Regions from separate parts of the Homo sapiens genome. Here region 2 is linked to region 1. The links are contacts of gene promoters, found by promoter capture Hi-C in blood cells and fetal thymus (Javierre and others, 2016). All regions are on one chromosome and are shown on one strand. Each heading gives the region's core, a stretch centred on a gene start or on the middle of the fragment in contact. The rest is flanking DNA. Distances are from core to core; before and after follow the strand shown. Region 1 holds the start of PIGR (polymeric immunoglobulin receptor). Region 2 has its middle 13 kb from the start of MAPKAPK2.

Evidence for each region. The method cuts DNA at HindIII sites, captures the fragments that hold promoters and counts their contacts. A CHiCAGO score of 5 or more calls a contact.
Region 2: a contact is called between a fragment that was not itself captured here and the fragment with the promoter of PIGR in region 1, in 8 of 17 cell types (activated CD4 T cells, naive CD8 T cells, non-activated CD4 T cells and 5 more). The highest score is 8.2, in activated CD4 T cells.

The regions. Positions count from the first base shown.
Region 1 is chr1:206,941,349-206,949,221 of GRCh38, forward strand. PIGR (polymeric immunoglobulin receptor) reads right to left here and starts at 5,118. Exons shown (of 11, transcript NM_002644.4): 1 at 4,988-5,118. The HindIII fragment of the contact is 20,587 bases long and covers 249-7,873 here.
Region 2 is chr1:206,668,305-206,676,177 of GRCh38, forward strand. No RefSeq gene overlaps it. Among named protein-coding and RNA genes, the nearest start is that of MAPKAPK2, 13 kb to the right of the region's middle. The HindIII fragment of the contact is 4,234 bases long and covers 609-4,842 here.

The sequences.
Region 1 (7,873 bases), core at 3,868-6,367:
ACTACTGTATCGCACCCCAAATACAAGAGCATGCTTTTACCTTATGCTTATTTGTGTTATTTGTAGAGACCCTGTTGCTTATGAAAGCACTACCATTTACATTATTTCATTTGAGCTTTATATGTTCCCTTGAAATAAGACAGACGGGTATAATCACAACCATTTTATGGATAAAACATTGAGGTCTTGAGATGCTGAATGATAGGCTTACGTTTTCCCAGCAACTTGGTTATGGAATTGGGGTTAAAAGCTTAGGTGTTAGGGTCTTTGTAATCCTGCCTGGTAAGGCCTGGCAGACAAAGATGAAGAATCGAAGATGAGACCACTCAGACGGAGCAGCCTGTGTGGACTTTGTCTCCACCGTGGACACAGCCCAGGGCTGAGGAGAGTTGAGGGTCCCAGGGGTCTGCCTGACAGCAGCTGTCATCAAGACCCCAACTACAGCCTAGAGGAGGAGACAGAAGTCTCCACTTTCCCAGACTTTGACAGACTTTAAACTTTGGAGTTGTCTTGACAAAGAGAGTGTTAAATGATCGTAAGTTTGGGCAGTAATGAGTGCCCATAAAGATAAGGACGCTGTAAGCAGGAGGAAGCTGGGCGTTATCTCCCAGACCTCCCTCACCACCCTGGCCCCTGCTCCTGCTCCCAGACTCCCTTCACCAGCTTGAGCCAAAGGCAATAGAGTTGTTTATCTTGGTTATTTCTTTGTTGCAGGGGAATTTCCCAGCAAGGAACCTTTTATTTCCTTGTGAATATAAAGGTATTTTGTTTCTGCAGTTCTTTGGAAGAATAAAGGGAGGGAGTGGGAACAAATATGGGTGTCAGATGGCAACGTTGAGGCTCTCTTGAGTCCGGTTAATTGCCCCAGACCTTTCTTACCAGGTCAATGATTAATGCCTGGAGTGGGGCCTTGGCCAAATACCAGTCAGCTCCAACATGGAAGCAATCAGGGGACACTAGCTGGGATGTCATCACCTGCGTGGGCACTGCAAGCTGCCATGGGAGATGCTCCCAGGTGGGAGCAGCTTTCAGGAGGCCAGGAAGTCTCAGAAACAGTTGGGATGGGCTGGCTGCAAAGTCCTGGGAGATCTACCATTTTCTACTTGTGCTGGCACAGGGTGGGTGCAGTCACAGGTGGGAGGACAAAATGCTGCCTGCTTTTAAGAACCCACACCAGCAGCAGCTGTCCTTGCTTCTTGTTCCTGTCCTCACCTCTAGATAAGCAAGCTGCCTCATATTTGCGTGAGACAGGAGTGGTCTTCCCACAAGCTGAGCTGGGGGATGCAGCCCTCCTCTGGACTTGGCCTGGGTTGCAGAGAGTCAGATGCCAGCTTCTCCAAGGTGAAGACCACCCTGACCTCTGTCCCAGACTTCTCATTTTGTGACATGTTTGGGTGGCTGTGCATGTTTGTGTAGAGAGGGGACATGTGTGTGCACCCATTACCCTCTGCATGGTCTCAAGCCAGGGATGAGAGCATCAGGCATGCACAGGCAGGTCGGGCAGATGGCAACATCAGCGGGATGCACACAGTCCAGTCCTAGATGGGATGATTGGCAGGAGAGGATACCCCTGCTTTCAGGAACAGGAGCTCTTCTTTGCCCAAAGCTAAAACTTGAAGCACAATTTCTCTAGTAGCATTTGAAAGGACCTCGAGCTTTCAGAATCATTACAGACCCCTTCCTCTCAAAACCAGAGACTTTCTTCCAAACCTGGGGATTCAAATCTCGGGAGACCTCCCCAGCCCAGGGTGGCTGGGGCTGGATTTAAAGGATTTGCTTAAGGAAGGAAGAAAAAGAACATAATGTTGGGCACCTGCTACGTGCCAAATGCTTTGCTAGGTTCTTTTCTTGTAAGACTTCATCCATCAGCACAACAACCCAAGAGATAGATGTTGTTATCCTCATGACACAGGTTGGAAATCTAAGGGTTATAGGGATTCTCGACCCCAAGACCCACAGCAGAATCCTAATTTGAGGTCACTACCCCATTATCACTCTTTAAATGAGCAAAGGGACCTGCTTTATTGGGTTTTATATATATGATATTATATCATGCATGAGGGCACGTTTTCTGGTCCTTAAACTAGCAGTTGTTTTTTCACTGCTGAGGCTAGGATGTGCTAGATCATTTTCAGTTTACTAAGTTAGTATCCCAACATATGTGTAACATATGTCCCCACAATTGTGGATTGGGGCAGGAGTGTAAGCTGTGCTGAAGGATAGTTTTTCTTTTTATAAAATGTATTTAACTAGCTCCTGTTCAGTTAAAGTGACTGCACTTCATCTCTCATGGTGTGGAGTCCAAACCTTTGTCCATCTAATCTCAGGTTTCCCTCTTTTTCAGAGGAAGAAAGGTCCCCTGGACTTGGTATGAGAGTAGAAGTCTGCTTGCTGGACATCCTTTGAAGATAGAGAGATGGAGAGTGAGCTACTTAGGTTGGACTCATGTGGATAAGAGAGGAGACAAGCACTATGGGCTAGGCTAGAAGAACGTACGCTGAGTCCTTTCCAGGTGCTTTACATGTGTTAATGTGTTCCATTTTTACAGCCACCATAGGAGATGGGACAAAATGGGCAACCCCATTTCATGAGTGAGATAATTGAGGCACAGAGAGGTGAGACATTTGCCCAAGGTTGCACAGTTGGTAAGTGACTTAGATGGGATTCTAGATCAAGAGCATAGGCCCTTAGCCACTCTGCTTTACCTCAGAGGGTCTTCCTATTGAGAGGAAGCAGTGGAGAGAGGAAGAAGCAGGATATTCAATCTTAGCGAACTGAGAATTTGTTCAGTTCTTTCCTCTCTGCCTTTCACGGAAAAGGCAGTTCTTATAAGGAGACACCTGGGGCCGGGCGTAGTGGCTCACGCCTGTAATCCCAGCACCTTGGGAGGCTGAGGTGGGTGGATCATGAGGTCAGGAGTTCAAGACCAGCCTGGCCAACATGGTAAAACCCCATCTGTACTAAAAGTGCAAAAGTTAGCTGGGTGTGGTGGCATGGGTCTGTAATCCCAGCTACTCAGGAGGCTGAGGTAGGAGAATCGCTGGAACCCAGGAGGTGGAGGTTGCAGTAAGCCAAGATCACGCCACTGCATTCCAGCCTGGGTGACAGGGCAAGATTCCATCTCAAAAAAATAAAAAATTAAAAAATGAAGAGACACCTGGACCCAGAGGTAGGTGCCAACAGAGAAATTTCTTCCTGGAAAATATTAGCTGCTATTTATTTAGCACCTACCATGTGTAGGATATGTTACATAACCATGGGTATAACCAGGCATGTTGACGCCAAAGCCTCTTTCCACTCCACCATACTGTGTCGATGCCAGTGACATTGGGACTCCAGCCCCAGCCCCTCCAGAGAGAGGGCAAGACATAGATGAAGGTCTCTGCTGAGCACAATGCATAGGTATTTTTTTTTAAGTTGGATAGTTTGCTTTTTAGGTGACATCAAAATGTCCTCATGACCATATCAAAATGGCTGTACCAAAACCTCATCGTTCAAACTTGCTGGTGACTTCACACCACTCACATAGACTCACGGTGTCTTGGTTTCCTCAACTAGGGAATGACATCACAAAACCAACCCTGCCTACCTCCTCGTTGGTATCAAGGGAGAATGAGACGAAGGTGTGAAAGCCCAGGGCAAGTGGGTTTACTAAATGGAAGCCTGTGTGACCCCATTTTTTATCACCTAAAGCCACAGAGGTCTAGCGGCACTAGGAGATAAGCAGAGAGAGTTGCTTTCCTGACTCCTGGCTCAGTGTTCTTTCTGCTACTTTAGCACATCCAGGGGCGGGACAAGGATGGAGAGAGAATTCCAGATCTGGCTCTGGGAAGACCTATGTCCAGGCACCAGACAGCTGCCTTCTACCTAAACCCCTGAAATTGGCATCTCCTCTCCAGATGTTAAAGGATCTATAATTCCCCTAGTGAAGGGGGAAAGTGATGGCACAAAATAGGAGCAGCTTCAATGGCCCCAGGCACTGTGGCAATTGCACAAAGGGAACTGGGGGTCAGGGATGGAGCTTGACCCGCTGCTGCCCTTGTGCCGGACGGTCCCACTGCTGGCTTGGGCTGCTGTCAGGATGGGCAAAGGGAGGGGAAGCCCATGTCTGAGATCTGCTGGCTGCAGAGCCAGGAGGAACAGCAGGAGTTGATCATGCTGCCTGTGGGGCTCAGCTCCACCTCACTCAGTGATCCCGTGAGGACCTCTTTTTTTCTACCTCTAGGAAGGGCAGGATGATGCGATGACACACATTTATGTCTCCCATGGCAGGAATCTGCTAGAGCAAAGCGAGGTGGAATTGCAAAGGATTTCAGAGGTTCTTGGAAGCCCAGAAAAAAGGAGCTGAACATGCCTTTGCCAGAAAGCCACAAGTGGGAAACCTCAAAGAATGGAAGAGGACTTGCTAGGTGCCATACTTTATGCGCACTATCTAATTCCAGGTCTGTTGGTGTTCAATAAATCCTTGATTAATTAAACTAAACTGAAAAATATGAAACAATTCCTATTTCATTCTAGAGGTTACAAAGCTATTTCACCTGTGTTTTCTCATTTGAACCCACATTGACCCTGAATGATAGGTGTTATTTCTATCTTTGTTTTACAGATTAAGAAACTGAGGATCAGAGAGGTTAGGTGGCTTGTCTAAGGCCACACAGTTAATCAACTATGAGGAGTTAGGAAATCCAGGCACAGACCAAGCTGAAAGAGTAGAATTACATATGCTGACCACAGAGGTCCCTTCCCACCTGCTGATATTTCTCAGAAAAGGATGGGGGGCTTCCACACACGTGCATCCCTACTCGTCCCACTGCGATATGCACGCTTACTCCCCAGCCACACACAGTCACACAGTCTGCCTCCTTGTCCTTGTCACCCCACTATCTAGGAGACTGGGAGTTGGGAATGGAGGGGGTTACCTGAGCCATCGTCCCGAGCCCTTTCCAGATAGCATCCCGTCTGGGGATCCCAGAGCAGTAACACTTACTTTTAGCCACTTCCTTCTCTCCCGTTGATCTGACTTCAGGGACACAGCCTGCTGGCCAGTTGGTAACCCCTGCCTCTCTAGGAGCTACTGGCAGGGCACTGGACGCTGCTGCCAAAACTGAAACTCTGCTCAGTGTTTGACCCACACCTGGGCTCTTAAAGGGCCACTCTCCCACAGGCACCGTGGCCAGCCAGGGTCATGTGACTCTCACAGATCCCTTGCTTTCCTTTCATTTTGGCCTTCCTGGCTGGCTCCATTTGGTTTCCTTTGACCTTGGGGAGACTCTGTTACTTGGGAATCCTCCATCGTTGCAGCTTCAGGATGAGGGACAGAATGTCAAGCGTGAAGATGCTGTTCTGTCGCTTTCTAGCTGCAAGACCTTTGGCAAGTCACCTTCCTATTTCTTTTCATCTGGAAAAGAGGGATGGTAATACCAAATCTACAGGTAGAGGATATAGCCCGGTATTAGCTCTAAAATACCTGGCCCAATGCTTGATTTGAAGTTGACATCATCTGATGGGGCACAGGTGGCAGGAGTGGCTGTCGTAGTCCTTGGTCTCATATCCCCAGTTGCTCTGGAATCCCCTCCGACTCCCTAGGTTACTTAGCCTGGACAAAAATGCCCCTTATACACCTCCTGCCAAGCCCCTTTTACCAGTCCCAGAGCTCCAGGAACTGGCAGGACTGTGGCCCTTCCTGTTTCACTCCCCAGAGTCATGAAAGACTCGCTGCTTCTGGGCTCCCCTGAACATGGCTGACCTCAGAGTCTTGTTAGGACCCGGGCTCGGCTCCATAGCAAGGACGGTGCTGACCTGCTGAGCTGAAGTAGCACCTCCTTCCCTATCTGTTAGTCCATGCCAAAACATGACCTGGTTGGGACTCCCAGGTGTTCCCCAAATGATCGTGGCAGTCCTGTGACAAAAGTGAAGCCCACTCCCCAACACACACGTGTATGGCCCCCCGACCCCTCACTGCAAACCCCCACAGAAATGCTGCCCATCCTACCTGTGCAGGGCTGACCCAGGCTCTCCCTACAGAGTCCTATAGGCCAAACACCAGAAGGGGAAGGAAAAATAGAGAAATAGAGCCCTGGAGAAACACAAGGCAGCCAGAGCCCTGGGTCTTATTTTAGCTAACCACTGGCTCACTTGTGGGTGTTAACACACAATCACAGATTTCAATGGCAAGCAAAAAAACCCCATAATTTCTTTATGTAGCTTAATTTCTCTCTTTTTTTGTGGTTTGCAAACTTAGATTTTCTTTTTTTATTTTGTTTTAGGTTCCAGGATTACATGTGCAGAACGTGCAGGTTTGTGACACAGGTAAACGTGTGCCATGATGGTTTCCTGCACCCGTCAACCCACCACCTAGGTATTAAGCCCCACATGCATTAGCTATTAGTTCTAATGCTCTCCCTCCCCCCACCCCCCCCAACAGGCCCGGATGTGTAATGTTCCCCTCCCTGTGTCCGTGTGTTCTCATTGTTCAGCTCCCATTTATGAGTGAGAACATGTGGTGTTTGGTTTTCTGTTCCTGTGTTAGTTTGATGAGGATGATGGCTTCCAGATGTAGCTTAATTTCAAACCCTAAACCCATAATCTGACTGATAAAAGAAAACAAGTTACCTAGTCACTTCTAGGCAAGCTCAGCCCAATTCAGTGATCTCTCAGTCACTTCACTCCAGATTTAAAATTTAGCCTCATTATGGAGTTCCCTTCCTTTTTGTCTCCCTTCTCTCCCCTGGGGTCCAGTCTGGAGAGAGCGGTCTTGGGTGAGGGGGTGGTCAATGTTACTGCTGAGGCAGTGAAAAGGGGTGGCCCATTATTATTTTGGTCTTGCTTTGTCACGATGCTGTGCTGGCCTTGGGCTCCAGAAGGAAATAGTTTTGTCTACTGAGATGTGACTTCCCCTGCTTGGTCAGTGGGCTTTGTCCCTGCTCATCCTGAGGGTTCTGTGGTCCACACTGTGCCCTCCTAGTCCATACACTGAGCTCCCTGGGGTGGGTCTTCCAGGCCCTCAGCCTCTCCTTGCCCACCTTGTGGGTGCAGGGTGAGTTTGGCTGATCACAGACTCCTGAGGCCTTTGGGAGATCCTGTGCAGCAGAGTCACATTTTCCCCCAACACTCTTGTAACCTCCTGTGTGCCAGTGTTCCCATATAATTGGGGGTACAATGGATATCAGCAAGACTGTGGACCACCAAAGTTCTCTACAGGATGGGCGAAGGTGAGGGCCCCTCAATCTGGAGTTTTCAAGCCCACCTGGATATCTCTATCATTGTTAATCCCCTCTCCCCTACTGTAGCCTGGACTCTGCCCCATGGTGGTGGGTGGGAGGGCACCAAGACACATCAGTAACTAAGCTCTCCTTTTTACTCTTCAGCAGTCTTTCTCCTCCCCAGTTCTGGGGTTAATGTCTAGCAGGAGGATGCGAGGGGAGACAAGATATGCAGGTGCAGAGATGAGACAAGCCTGGTTCTGTCAGATTATAGCTCCTTTCAAAGGATTCCCGATTTATACCTCTCTCCATTTGAACTCAATAGTCAAAATATTTGTAGGGTTTGTTTCTTCCTTCCCAAAGCAAGAAATAAGTTGTGTCCAGTTGTCCAGGCTGGAGTAGAAGTCAAGGCAGGTTCACAGAACACTAGTGCAGAAATTTGACGAGCAAAGGCTTGCAGGGAGGAAGGGGAGAACACTCATTAAATCATTTCTTCTCATGCTGCCTTGGTGGGCGTGGAGGACAGGTTGCAGATTTCCTTCCCTGCTTTGCTATTTCATGATGGTGGGTAATTTACTAGATCATGTCCTGCTGCATGTTTTCAATAGTCTCCAAAACTGTCTTAGCTGACCCATGTCAGACACACACACATACACATACACACACACACA
Region 2 (7,873 bases), core at 1,476-3,975, 280 kb before region 1:
GGAGCCCTGGAAAACCTCAACACTTTAGAGGGAGGTTGGGGAGAAGAGCAATTGAAGGAAACTGAGGAGAAGTGGGCAAGGATGGAGAAGTAGAATTCAGAGTGTGAGGTCCTGATAATCAAGGGATCCTGTGCTGCAAAGAGGCCCAGGACAGAGTTTTGAAGGAAGAAGGAAGGGTTGGGGCAAAGTGTGAAATTCAGCAGAGAGATCTAAACTGAGATGGTGAGCTAAGATAAGGAGATAGGAGGAGTGAGTGGCCGAGGCAAAAGCCGAATTTCAGAAGAGTTGAGTGCTCAGGAGTTGAAGAAGTGGAGACAGGAAGTATAGTTAAATTGCTCCTGCAGTTGAGTTTGCTAGGAAAGGAACAAGAGGAAACCAGGCAGGTGTCAGGAAGAGGCAGGACAGCAGGCAAGAAATACTTAAAGATGTTACAGACAGGGGAAAGTGTCACTTGAGTGGAAATGGAGCAAATGCTGTTCCCTACTCAAAACCATCCCCCTCGCTTGTTGGGCCCCATGATGTGTCTGTAATCTCAGCACTTTGGGAGGTTCAGGCCGAAGGATCCCTTGAGCCCAGGAGTTTGAGTCCAGCGTGGACAACCCAGTTGAAGCTTCTTTCTCTAAAAAACAATACCAGAACCAAAAACCCATCCCCCTTTTCCTTCCTTGTGACAGAACCCATACCTGGTTCAGCAGGTGGGTAGCAAAGTGCCAGGGGAAGGTTGGTTCCTCCCCGACCTGGGGAACATTCTGGTTCTTTTGTGCAGCCATTGGTTTAGGAGTGGGCATGTGACCCACTTCTGGCCAATGGGACATTATGGGAAGCCAACTGAAGTTCTCTGGGAAATATTTTTCCCTTGATAAATACCATAATTTTGGAGGAAATTTTATTTATTTATTTATTTATTTATTTATTTATTTATTTATTTAAGACAGGGTCTCACTCTGTTGGCCAGGCTGGAGTGCAATGGTACGATCTCAGCTCAGTGTAGCCTTGATCTCCTGGGCTCAAGCAATCCTCCCACCTCAGCACCCCCGGAGCAGCTGGGACGAGGCACACACTACCACTCCCAGCTAATTGATTTTTATATTTTATAGAGACGAGGTCTCTGTATGTTGTCCAGGTTGGTCTTGGACTCCTGGCCTCAAGCGTTCCTCATGCCTCAGCCTCCCAAGGGGCTGAGATTATAGGAGTGAGCCGCTGAGCCCAGCCAAGACTTCAATTTTTTTTAAATTTTACTTTTATTTTTTATTTCACCCTTGCCTCTTTTCTTGCTCTGTTGAATCACGCCATGGGAAGATGTGAGACTTAGAGCTGTTGCAGCCATCTTGCAACAATGAAATAATATGCTGAGCTGGATGGTGGAGAGGTCCTGTCTGCTGAGCATGGCAAAGCAGAGGACGGTCAGACCCGGATCCTTGATGGAGCTTGAGGACTTTGTTGAGCTGCTGAACAACCCGAGATCACCTCCCTTTAGCCTTGTTAAGAAACTATTAGCATCTTTATGATTTAAGCCATTGCCAGTTGTCTTTTCAGCTGCATGCGTCCTAACTGATATAGGATGGTTCTCATATTCTGGATCCAAGGTAATTTAGGCTGGTTTTTAAATGAGATTAGGGTACCAGTAAGACCTTTTGAAATGTTGAGGTAAACCATCTTTGACTGTGGTTTCTTCCCTAAAGTAGCACTCAAGGCCATCATTCTTTAAAACAATCCTGATTGTTTAAACAGACCAATTACTTTGCTATGGGTAATGAAGATTATGGAAGTCAGGCCTTTCTGCCTTTTTTGGTTGAAGCCAAGTCAAACTAAGCCTTCCAAGCAAGAGACACCCATTTGTCCTCTCCACAGCTTCTCATAATTATTTCCATGCCTTATTGATACATTGGGAAGTAAACCCTCCTAATTATTGCAATTGGCTACATTTTTATTGTAATATGAGATAAGACTTTGGATATCATGCTTTTCTCTAGAATTTAAGACAAAGGAACTCTCTAGACTGAGAGTTCAAAAGGCTGAGCTTTTGTCTAGAATGTGAGCCTAATGGAAAAGGCGAGATATTTGCAAGGGAGTCATTGCACGCATACTCAGCAAGCACAGACTGCTCCTCTCGGGGCTACTGAGGAGGGCACAGGTGACTGGGAATGGAGTATCTGCCCTTGAGAAATTGACAACTTGGGAGAAAAAAAAGTCCTCAAAAGTGACGAATAAAAGGCCAAGTATAACAAGCATCATAAAGGATGGATTGGAAAAGCACGGGGTTGAAGGCAAGGAATCTAGTTAGTGAGCTAGTGGAATATTCTAGGTGAGAGAAATCTAGGGCAGTTGCAGGGGAGATGGAAAAGAGGGCAGGATACAGGAGGCCTTGCTGAGATAGAGTCAGCAAGAATTGCCAGCTGATTAGATGTGGGATGTGAGGAGAGGGGTGAATAAAAGGACAAACCTCCTGAAACAACAGTGGGAGAGATTTTAACAAATCGTCTGTATTGTCTTCTAGGTATGGGGGGAGGATAGGAAGACAAGAAAAACATCTAGATCATGGTTCTCAAACTTTCATTTAGCTGAGGAATATCTTCTTCAACAAAGCCATCTACATACAGCCAATATATTTGGGGTAGAATGTGTTTTTTTCCCTCCCCTTTCCTTGTTTAGGAGTTGGGCATGCACCAGGGTAGGATAACAGAAGACAGCACAATTGTTCTGTGCAATGATTCGGGGAGGTTCTATGCAGGGCCAGCTTCATGGGCATGCAAGCCATGCATTGCACAGGGACCTGCATTTATAAGGACGCTGTGTGGGTTTAATACTCACTTGGAATTCTTTTCTTTTTTTCAAGACGGAGTCTTGCTCTGTCACCCACGCTGAAGTGCAGCGGCGCGATCTCCGCTCACAACAAGCTCCGCCTCCCGGGTTCACGGCCGTTCTCCTGCCTCAGCCTCCCAAGTAGCTGGGACTATAGGCGCCCGCCACCATGCCCGGCTAATTTTTTTTTTTTTTGTATTTTTAGTAGAGACGGGGTTTCACCGTGTTAGCCAGGATGGTCTTTATCTCCTGACCTCGTGATCCGCCCTCCTCGGCCTCCCAAAGTGCTGGGATTACAAGCATGAGCCACCGCGCCCAGCCTGGAATTCTTAATAATTTCTGAACAAGGTGCTATGCATGTTTATTTTGCACTGGGTCCGGCAAAGGAGCTAACTGGCCCTGAACAGAGGTAGGGAACTAAAGAAACTCGTCTTTTACAGGCTCGGAGATGCCAAGACAGCCAGGGTGGAAATGCATATGAATGATAATGTCCTAATAGTAGTAGTCTATTTCACAGGGTTGCTGCAAGTGTTGAATGAGAAAATATGTGGAAAGTGCTTAGAACAGTGTCTGGCACATAGGGAATGCTGTGGAAGTGTTTGATATCATTACTGTTCCCTCCTTGTACTGGTTCAACACCTGACAGCCTGAGGTTGATTATTCAAAGGGTCACAGTGGGCTTTTCTCATTTTCCCATTTCTAACCTGTCGCTCACCATCCAGCCCCAGGCTTATGATTGTCCTTTGGGGGAAAAAACTCCAACAACAATAATTATCACAATAAATACATAGGTGAGATCACATCCTCTCTTGATCCTTAGTGTAGCTAGCTGGTGCTTCAGGGTGTGTCTGTGTGCTCTGTGTGTCTTTGTTTGTGTCTGAGAGGGAGGTTTTTTTTTTTTCATTTAATTTTAATTCAATTAATTAGAGGCTCTCTCTGGTGGTTTCATTTTGTTTTTCTTTACCTGCCTTTTTGGTTCATATAGCGAGGACCCTGGAACCACCTGCTTCCTCCCTGCCACCGCTTCTCCTCAGGTCCCCAGGGGAAGCCAGGATCTAAAGGATGACTGTGTCACCATTGTCCTCAAGATAATGGCTCCCTCCCCCGCTTCCCTCCACTCCTATCTCATTCTCTTGAGCCTGTGGAGTGTTCAACCTTTGTCCTTCGAGTATAACCCTTTACTGGCGATAAAAAATTAAAATACTGGCTCAACACCTCTACTCCACGAAGCTGTTGTCTTGACCAAAGTCTGAAAGCTGCCCCTCCTACCCCTATTCTAATCTTAGACATTCCCAGCACATTCTTAGTAAGAGGGAACTCTCTCTCATTGTCCTAGGATTTTAAGTCTGCAAGAACTACGCATTTTTTTTTCCTTAGCAGAAGCAGTTGTACTTTTTCCTGACAACTTTGCAAGTTCCCCATAAAGTTGGAAATTCCCTTCCTCGTTACAGCTCTTGATAGATGCAGAAGAAGCCTAGTCTGGACCTGTCTTCTCTCCTGACCTGCTGTGTAACTCTTGGGAAGTTAGTTTAAATGTTTTTGGGCCTCAGATCACAGAGATTAACTTGACTGGGGACAGACTGAAGGCTGAAAAGTGTTTGGGAATGATTTATTTTTAGAGGACCTTGGGAGAAGGGTTTTACAAATGTCTCTAAGGTAAGAATAGCCATTTGGGGAGTTACCAAGACACTTAGATTCCCCCTCCTGAAAAAATGAGTTTAATAATTTCCATTGCTAATTTCTATGTCCCCACCCTTTCCTCCAAGCCTGCCTCCACCCTCAGCTGTTGATTGATGGAGTAGATGTGCTCTACTCCCCCTCCCACTGATGCACACACTTCTGGGAGGCCCTATATAAATAGAAGCCAGAGGCAAGGCTGCAGAATTATTATTATCATTATGATGATGATTATGTTTTCAGCATGAGAAACAGGAAGTGAAACTGACTAAAATGCCCAGTGATATGTGGCTGACCCTGTCTCCTCAGCTGGACCTAAAGGCAAAGGAGAAACTGGCCAAAGAAAACTGTAGCCCTGCCACAAGCTTTAACAACTTCTGGTGGTGTGTGTGTGTGTGTGTGTGTGTGTGCGTGCGTGTGTGTGTGTTACAAGGAGTGTCTTTAAATAAGCAGCTTCTAGAACTTGTGATCTTTCAACCTTATTTTTATGCCCAAGCTTCCCTCTTCATGTGATATCCTCAGAGTTCTTCCTTACTACTTCCTTCCCCATTTCCTAGAGAGAGCTTCTCACGGCTGTCAGAAGATGTTAAAGGAGAAGTCCAATGATTAATTACTTCCCACTACACATGCCTTATCTGCCCAGGCCAGGTCTGAGCTGTGTGCCTTTCTTGATCACCGGGTCTGTCTCCAGGGCAGACATATTCCCTGGGCCCCCAAGGCCTTTCTTCCCTCTCCCTTCAGGGGGCCATGTTTTCTCTTCTGCCTCACTGCTTGAGGCTCCATCTGCTTGGTTGATTATTCATGTCCTTTGTCTTTTTCAGGAATCGATTATGGATAAATGGTAGTTAGAAAACAGGGCTTCAGGGCCGATGTAATTATCCCACTTTGACATTTCCATTTTCAGCACCATGGCCTCTGGAAACACTGACACAGTGAAAATGACCTGATTTTCATACTACCTTGTTAGTTCAACTTCCTAGGGAGAAAAAAGCAGGCAGCTATGTGGAGAGTAAATGAACCAAGTTGGTGTTTCAGAAACGCCTCCTCATTTGGACAATATTCTGAAAAAAAAAATGCATAGGAAACAGAAGAGAAAAAGGCATCTGCGGGGGATAGCAAAGAAAGAGAAAGAAAGAGCATTTCAGCTGTGCAGGGCATTGGGCTCACATTCTGGTCCCTGGGCCCACACCTTTTTTATGGCTTTCATACCAAGATCTCGAGCTAGATTAATAGATTATTGGAATTTTGGGTTGGGAAAAACATAACTGTCTTATTCTCGCTATAATTTTTTCTGAGCCTAGAATAGGGGGTCCAGCGAAGTCCACCCAGGAGCTGGGATGGAGGATGAGGATCATAACAAGGTACTTGATTGAGGAAGAACAACTCTAGTATGGAGCTTTATGCCCCAAATTGCAGCAGTTATGAGTCTTACTCCCTGCATAGGAGAACATGGTGGCTGAGAAGACAGGTGTTAGTTAGGTCCCGGCTTTCTGCATTCAAATCCCCACTCCAGACCTTACTTTAAGTTGCTTAAATTCAATGGGCCTCAGTTTCCTCATCTGGGCCCCTGGAAGGATGTTAGTAACACCTATCTTGCAGGGTTGTTATGGGGCATTGATTGAGTCAACACCTGGAATCACAGGCATTGTAGGAACATAATAGGTGCTCACTAAAAGAGAGCTATTACCGTGAACTTTTAAATTTGTCTTTGTCTATGTGCCATTCACTATCCTCCATTTCATCCATCCAGCAAAAATACAAATGCCATATTCTGTGACAGGCGCTGGGCAAGTCACCAGGGATAGACACAAAGCAGAATATAAATCTTGTCAGAGGATTTATCCTCCCCAGGTTTCTCTTATTTCTTAATCCAGAGCAGAACACATAACAAGTTTGAACCCAATTTTCACTGTTCCTTGGTCCTGTTCCTCACCCATTCTCTCCATTTGCTTTTTCTGCTTCCTTGCTCTTTCTTTCCCAACTCTGTAGGAAGATAGGCCCCAGGTATCTCTGCCAAGGAAGGTCCCTGGAATCCTGCCAGGCTCTTCTAGGACTTGTCTTGGTGAGGGAGCCCTGGGAGGGGCAGGTCCCCAGGGAAGCCTGTTGCTCCTCTCACTCAGCAATCCCTCTTGGGCCAGGCTCCCCTTCCCAGGCCCTCAGCTCTCCCACAAGATCTCTGGGGAAGCTGGAAGAGGGCCACTAGGCCCTGTAATAACCACACTTCTTCATGGTAAACAAGAACCAGATTCCTGGGGAGTGACGCAGGCAGGAGCTCTGTGGCTGAGGCAGCTGTGATTATACCAAGACATGAAGAAACACCTCTTGCTCAGCCTTGGCCTGCTTGGGGAAGGCCCAGGAGAGAAGCTGCCCATGTGTCCCTCTTTGCTACCCTTCTAGTCATTCTTGGCCTGAATTACAGGGGCCTTGGCACCAATTGGCTCTGCAGACACAAGTGGGCAACCATCAGCCCCGATCTCCCAACCAGACTAGGTTCCTCCATCACCTCTCCTTTTCTAGGATTTTCCCCACCCTCTCCCCTACTCATGTGTCTGACTCCCACCCTTGGCTGTCATCCTGCACTCCCTGTGCCTTCCTTCTTGAGGGAGAATCATGCATGTCCCTCACCAATGCCAGTCGAAGCCTTAGGCTCCTGTGCAGAGGCCTTGATCCTGGGCACCCAGGAATGAAGCTGCCCTGAAGGGGCACTGGCCCACAGGCTGTCAAAGCTGGTCCAGGGCCTTCATCTTCACAATGTGACTTCTGAGTGTAGGATCAGTTCTCCTGGATGTTTAGGCCAAGCACAGTTCTTGCTAGTTCTTAGATGGAATGTTGAACTGGCTTAAATACTTCTAGGATACACAAGAAACTGGGGTGGGGAACTGGGTGGCTGAGGGCTTGGGTGGCTGAGGGCTTAGTTGGCCAGGGAGACATTTTACAAGCTACCCTTTAGGGCTTTTGCATTTTGTACCATGTGAATGTATTAAAAGTTTTCAAAAAAAAGAATTCTGTGATCTTGTAAACCTCTTGTATGTCAGATATAGAGAATTTCTGGCCCCTGTCCTCATGGTGGAAGGGAGAGTGGGATAGTTGTGTGGAAAAGGCCTCATTTGGGTCAGACTTCAGGCTTAGAAGGGGCTGACAAGGGCAGGTGTCTGCTTGGGTTTGAGATTTTCTGAGCATCTGAATGACTTAGAATCTTGCACAAGGAGGATAGTGTTGTTGAGTGTGATGGTCCTGGAGGGAGGAGGATGGGCCTGAGCTTCTGTCCAGGCCTAGAAGTACATTTGACTTTCTGTGTCTATGAATTTGACTACTTAGGTACCTCAGATAAGTGGAATCATATAATATTTGTCTTTTTGTGTCTGGCTTATTTTATTAGCGCAATATTTGCAAG